Linked DNA regions of Homo sapiens: region 2 is linked to region 1. The links are contacts of gene promoters, found by promoter capture Hi-C in human tissues and cell types (Jung and others, 2019). All regions are on one chromosome and are shown on one strand. The core of a region is centred on a gene start or on the middle of the fragment in contact, and the rest is flanking DNA. Distances in the headings are between cores, read along the strand shown. Region 1 holds the start of PRDM6 (PR/SET domain 6). Region 2 overlaps CEP120 (centrosomal protein 120).

The links. Contacts are between HindIII fragments. The study calls those that stand out against the background at their distance.
Region 2: a contact is called between a fragment that was not itself captured here and the fragment with the promoter of PRDM6 in region 1, in 1 of the 25 tissues and cell types used here (H1 embryonic stem cells).

The regions. Positions count from the first base shown.
Region 1 is chr5:123,087,775-123,090,565 of GRCh38, forward strand. It overlaps PRDM6 (PR/SET domain 6), which reads left to right and starts at 1,467. Exons shown (of 8, transcript NM_001136239.4): 1 at 1,467-1,745; 2 at 2,226-2,791. The coding sequence starts at 2,241. PRDM6-AS1 (PRDM6 antisense RNA 1) reads right to left here and starts at 2,542. Exons shown (of 2, transcript NR_146771.1): 1 at 2,298-2,542; 2 at 1-165. RefSeq lists enhancers at 117-661, 662-1,206. The HindIII fragment of the contact is 7,641 bases long and covers 1-2,791 here.
Region 2 is chr5:123,416,748-123,419,538 of GRCh38, forward strand. CEP120 (centrosomal protein 120) reads right to left here. Exons shown (of 20, transcript NM_001375405.1): 2 at 1,612-1,768. Among named protein-coding and RNA genes, the nearest start is that of CEP120, 5.3 kb to the right of the region's middle. The HindIII fragment of the contact is 7,053 bases long and covers 1-2,791 here.

The sequences.
Region 1 (2,791 bases), core at 217-2,716:
TGCCTTAAACTTGGGTGCTATCAATCTATCCAACAATGACGGATGACCTTGTCATAACGACGCCAGTCAAAACATTTTCGGTCTAACTCTCTTCCAACCAACATCGAAGCATCCTGAATGAGACCCGGATGAAGTCTGAACAGCACGTTTCCCAGGTTCAGAAAACTTGAGTGGTGGGAAGAGAAAAAGAAACAAGCAGAAATCAGGAAAGAATGGCTATTAATTGCTCAGATTGGCAAGTGCTAAATAAGTTAGGTTGTTTGGAAAAAGATAAATGCCGTTTCTTCTCTTTACGGTATGGCCAGAACCCCGGCGATGGGAAAGTACCTCCTGAGTCGGTCAATTTCACACACCCTGCCTGTGCCCTCTACCATCTACTACCGAAAATGCCAGGAAGAGCTGGGGGGCAAGTGCCTCCTTCGTGGGTGCGAGACTGCATCGAAGGGCTGCCCTGGCACAAAGTCTGGGGAGAGGACATGGTGGAGGTGGGGCTGCACTCCCACCCTGCCCCTCTAACACCAGGTTTTGGGTAGAGAAACCTATGCGTGACCTCCTGCGGCAGCCGCAGGCAGCTGACCGCAAACAGCCTCGCCCGTGTCCCGGAGCAGTTGTGCCACCAGACGTAACACTGGATACTTGTCTCCGGGCCCCAAGAAGGAGAGGGAAAGAGCCCTCCAGAAGACAACCCGAGAAGGGGTCAGCAGAGCGCTGGGTGGAGTGCAGACTCCATTGCAGCCGCCTCCCAGCCCCACGGCCAAGCTTGAGTCCCTCCAGGACCAGCTGCTCTCGGTCTCAGGACCCTCGGTCCTACGCCTCCCTGCACCGACAAGCCTCCCTCCTGGGCTGCAGACAGAGGGTTTCACTGCAGCGCGCAACCCGTCCCGCTCCGCCCCCAACTTTTCTCCCCGGAGGATTTATGTTAGAGGTTGCGTGGCGGGCGAGTGGACTCTGGCACCCAGAAGCACTTCAGGAAAAACTGAGCCGGGCAAAAGCGCAAACCCGGTCCTGGCGGCGCGGGCTTGCTCCAGCGCGGACACCACAGCGTGTGCGGAGATGCATTCCCGTTGCCGCATTTCCACTGCTTTCAAGATCAGGGCACTGAGCTGGGACCCAGAAAAGACATATCATGGGCAGAAAGAGACAACAGGCTAGCGGCAGACGTCACGCCAAAAAAACAGGGGATGGGAGGGCGGAGGAGTTTGTGCGGGAAAGGCGCTCTGGCGATGTGGGTCGGGCCGAATTAGAACTTCCTTCTTCCCTCTCCCCTCCCCTTCTTCTGGCCTGCCTCCCCTCCCCCCTCCGTTCTCTCTCTCTCTCTCTCTCTCTCTCTCTCTCTCTCTCTCTCTCTCTCTCACACACACACACACACACACACACACACACACACACACACACACACACACACACACACACACACTCACTCTATTTTGTGCTGTCGTAAAACCCACGTGTCCAGCCGGGAAGCTGCCAGAGCGTGGAACCAAGGAGCCAGGACGCGGCAGCGGCCAAGCGCAGCAGCCCACGGCGGTTGAGTCGGGCGCCCAGGTCCGTCCGCACTCTCGCGCCCTCCGCGGGCCTCCCAATTTTCTCGCTTGCAGGTCGGGAGGTTTCCGGGCGGCACAATCTCTAGGACTCTCCTCCCGCGCTGCTCAGGGGCATGTAGCGCACGCAGGGCGCACACTCTCGCGCACCCGCACGCTCACCGAGACACCCGCACGCACCCACCGGCAGCACCGAGTTTTCAGGTAAGGTGAGGCTGGTCTGGGACTTAAGAGTCTAGGGCTTGGTAGATAGGAAGGTTGGTGGTCCTAGGTTGGGGGCGGGCGGCGAGACTGTTCTGCCTCCTGGCGCCTGAGGCCAACGCGGCTCGGGCGCTGCGCCACGCCGGCTCGGGTCGGCTCCGGGCGCTGGCTGAGGGCGGGGGCTGCGTCCTGCAGCCGAGTTCTACGGGGCAGCGCCCTCCTGTCGGGCCCCAGCATTGCTGGATGGGAGCTGGACGCTGCGATCGGGGAGGCAGAGCAGGGTGCACACAGCTCCCTCTGTGCGGCGCCGCAGCTTCGGAGTAAACTTTGCGCCCAAGCGGAGTTGGGAAGAGGGAGCCGCGGAACCGGGCGGCCGCCGGCTGAACCACCGGCTCGGGCACTTTCTCCAGGGTCCCAGTGGCCCTCTTCCCGGCCCCTTTCGCCCAGCTCACGCGCCCCCTCTTCCCTGCCCTCTGCCCCCAGTTCGAGGCGCCGGACATGCTGAAGCCCGGAGACCCCGGCGGTTCGGCCTTCCTCAAAGTGGACCCAGCCTACCTGCAGCACTGGCAGCAACTCTTCCCTCACGGAGGCGCAGGCCCGCTCAAGGGCAGCGGCGCCGCGGGTCTCCTGAGCGCGCCGCAGCCTCTTCAGCCGCCGCCGCCGCCCCCGCCCCCGGAGCGCGCTGAGCCTCCGCCGGACAGCCTGCGCCCGCGGCCCGCCTCTCTCTCCTCCGCCTCGTCCACGCCGGCTTCCTCTTCCACCTCCGCCTCCTCCGCCTCCTCCTGCGCTGCTGCGGCCGCTGCCGCCGCGCTGGCTGGTCTCTCGGCCCTGCCGGTGTCGCAGCTGCCGGTGTTCGCGCCTCTAGCCGCCGCTGCCGTCGCCGCCGAGCCGCTGCCCCCCAAGGAACTGTGCCTCGGCGCCACCTCCGGCCCCGGGCCCGTCAAGTGCGGTGGTGGTGGCGGCGGCGGCGGGGAGGGTCGCGGCGCCCCGCGCTTCCGCTGCAGCGCAGAGGAGCTGGACTATTACCTGTATGGCCAGCAGCGCATGGA
Region 2 (2,791 bases), core at 125-2,624, 330 kb after region 1:
TTTCTGAAAGTAAAAAATTATCATGAATTTTCAGGACCTATTTTATTTCTCTTATACTGTAACATACATAAAATTACAAATACAAATACATGCTTATAGCTCTTTTGTAGCTAAAAAACAAACAGGAATTAAATATAAAATAAATTAAAATTTAAATTAATAATATAACACATAACAGTGTTCTGAAAGAATGATATTGGCTTGTTTAGCATGGGCTGTTTTAGTTCGGAACCCCTCAACTGGCTCATGCATTAAGCTGAATGGATTTTGCCACTGCTTTTATCTAGTGGAGTTATTATAGAACTGCACTTAGCACAAAATCATCACTTATAAATTCAATTTATCTGTATTTTCTCAGCCTACAACAATCAGAGTGGTACTAACCTGGCACTAACAAAATGGAAGCCCTAACAGCTCATAGCAGGACTCCATTATAGACACCACTGAAAGGAAATCCAACATTGATATTCTCTAAGAATGCAATACTTCTTCAAATAAATCCATGGACTACTCTAGCAACAGAGGTAAATAGAGTTTTCCTTGCTTTCCTTTTTTTTAACTTTCCATTTTGATTTAATTTAGTACTGAGAACAAGCAAGTATTAAAGTGATAACATGTTTTCCAGAAGAAAATATATTTTTAATCCTTAAATAAATAAGAGTATTGCTTTTATTGTTGTTGCCTGCTTCTAGTCAGAGTTCACAAAAAATATATACTATAACTTTAAGTCTATTTTATATACTAATAAAGTGGTTTTGTTTAAAATTAAATATAAATTAATTAGAAAGAAACCTTGATAGAATTACTTTCATAACTTTTCACTGGATACCCCTCTATATATCCTTGGCAAGCCAGGTAAATATACAATAAATAAATTAACAGAAATTACAAGGAATTCCAACCATATTTAATAATGAGTAGGTATCATCAAGGTATTTCTAGAATATCTACTGTCTCACACATTAGGAAAAAAAAAAAACCCAAACAGCTCAGTGTAAGTGTAGTGTAAAAGCTTAGGCTCTGAAGCTGGATTGCCTGGGCTCTACCACTACTAAGCTAACAGACTTAAAACAAGTTACTAATACTTAACATCTCAGGCCTCGGTTTCCTCATCTATAATATGGGCGAAATAAAAATAACAACTTCATAGTGTTGTTCTGATGTTTAACTGTTATTGTTGCAAAGTACTTTAAAAATTTCCTGTCACATTTAAAAAAACACTCAATAACTATAATTATTAAACGTAATGACAGATACAAAATTTATAGGTTGAACATTCCTAATTTGAAATGCTCCAAATTCTAAAACTTTGAGTGCTGACATAATGCCACAAACGGAAAATTCCACACACAAGCATTTAACATACTTCATTTTATGAAAATTTATTTAAAATATTATATAAAACTACCTTTGACTATGCGTATAATGTAAAACAAATAAATTTCATGTTTAGACTTGGGTCCCATCCCCAAGGTATCTTTGATTATGCAGATATTCCAAAAATCCGAAAATACTTCTGGTCCCAAGTATTAAATACTCAAACTGTATTTATTTATAACAGCCTGAAAAATAAGAAACCAATAAAGAAGCTAAAATGAAAATGATAATCACCTGTGCTGATGAAGCGCTTTCCTGTCAATTTCCCAAGCTAACTCAGTAGCAAATTCTGGCTGGTCAGTGTGGTCCACAGGATCAGTAGCCAACTGTTCTCCATCAAACTTTGCTTCCACTACAAGCATATGCTTTGGACGTTTGGGGAAATGCCGACCTGGAGAAACAGAATATATAGATTAATCAAAAGTGTACAAAAATCAAACAGGATCATTTACCATGTGTTTTTTTGTTTGGCTGGTTTTTTTTTTTTTTTGAGATGGAGTCTTACTCTGTTGCTTAGGCTGGAGTTCAGTAGCGCAATCTCAGCTCACTGCAACCTCCGCCTCCCAGGTTCACGCGATTCTCCTACCTGAGCCTCCCAAGTAGCTGGGATTACAGGTGCACACCACCAAACCCAGCTAATTTTTGTATTTTTAGTAGAGACAGGGTTTTGCCATGTTGGAACTCCTGACTTCAGGTGATCTACCTGCCTCGGCCTCCCAAAGTGCTGGGATTACAGGCATGAGCCACCATGCCCAGCCTAGCATGTGTTTTTTTAAAACTAATGATCTGTTAAGTGTGGTTGACATGCATTCCATAAGCTACCTCACTAATGCAGGCTCACATATACACTCACTTCCATAATTCATAAGAAACATGAATCAAATGGAAAGCTATAATTTATAAATGTGTGCTTCTCAAACATTAGTGTGCACATGAATCACCTAGGGACCCTGTTAAAATGTAGATTTTGACTCAGTAGATTTAGGGTGGGCCTAAGATTCCGCATTTCTAACAAGATCCAAGGTGATGTGAATGCTGCTGTCCTTGGTCCACACTTTGAGTAGGAATGATCTCAACAACATCTGGAATTAAACACTTAATGTGATTACACGAATTTTAGGTACTACTATTGCACTACTTAATAGAGAACAGTCATCTGAAGAGCTGGGAAATAAATTAGTAAAAACAAATTTGCCTGCAGCTTAATTTTTCTGTTAACTCAGTTAAGAATACTTTCCTGGTGAAACCCCGTCTCTACTAAAAATGCAAAAAATTAGCCGGGTGTGGTGGCATGCGCCTGTAGTCCCAGCTACTCGGGAGGCTGAGGCAGAACAGCTTGAACCCGGGAGGCAGAGGTGGCAGTGAGCACTGCACTCCAGCCTGGGCAACAGAGCAAGACTCCATCTCAAAAAAA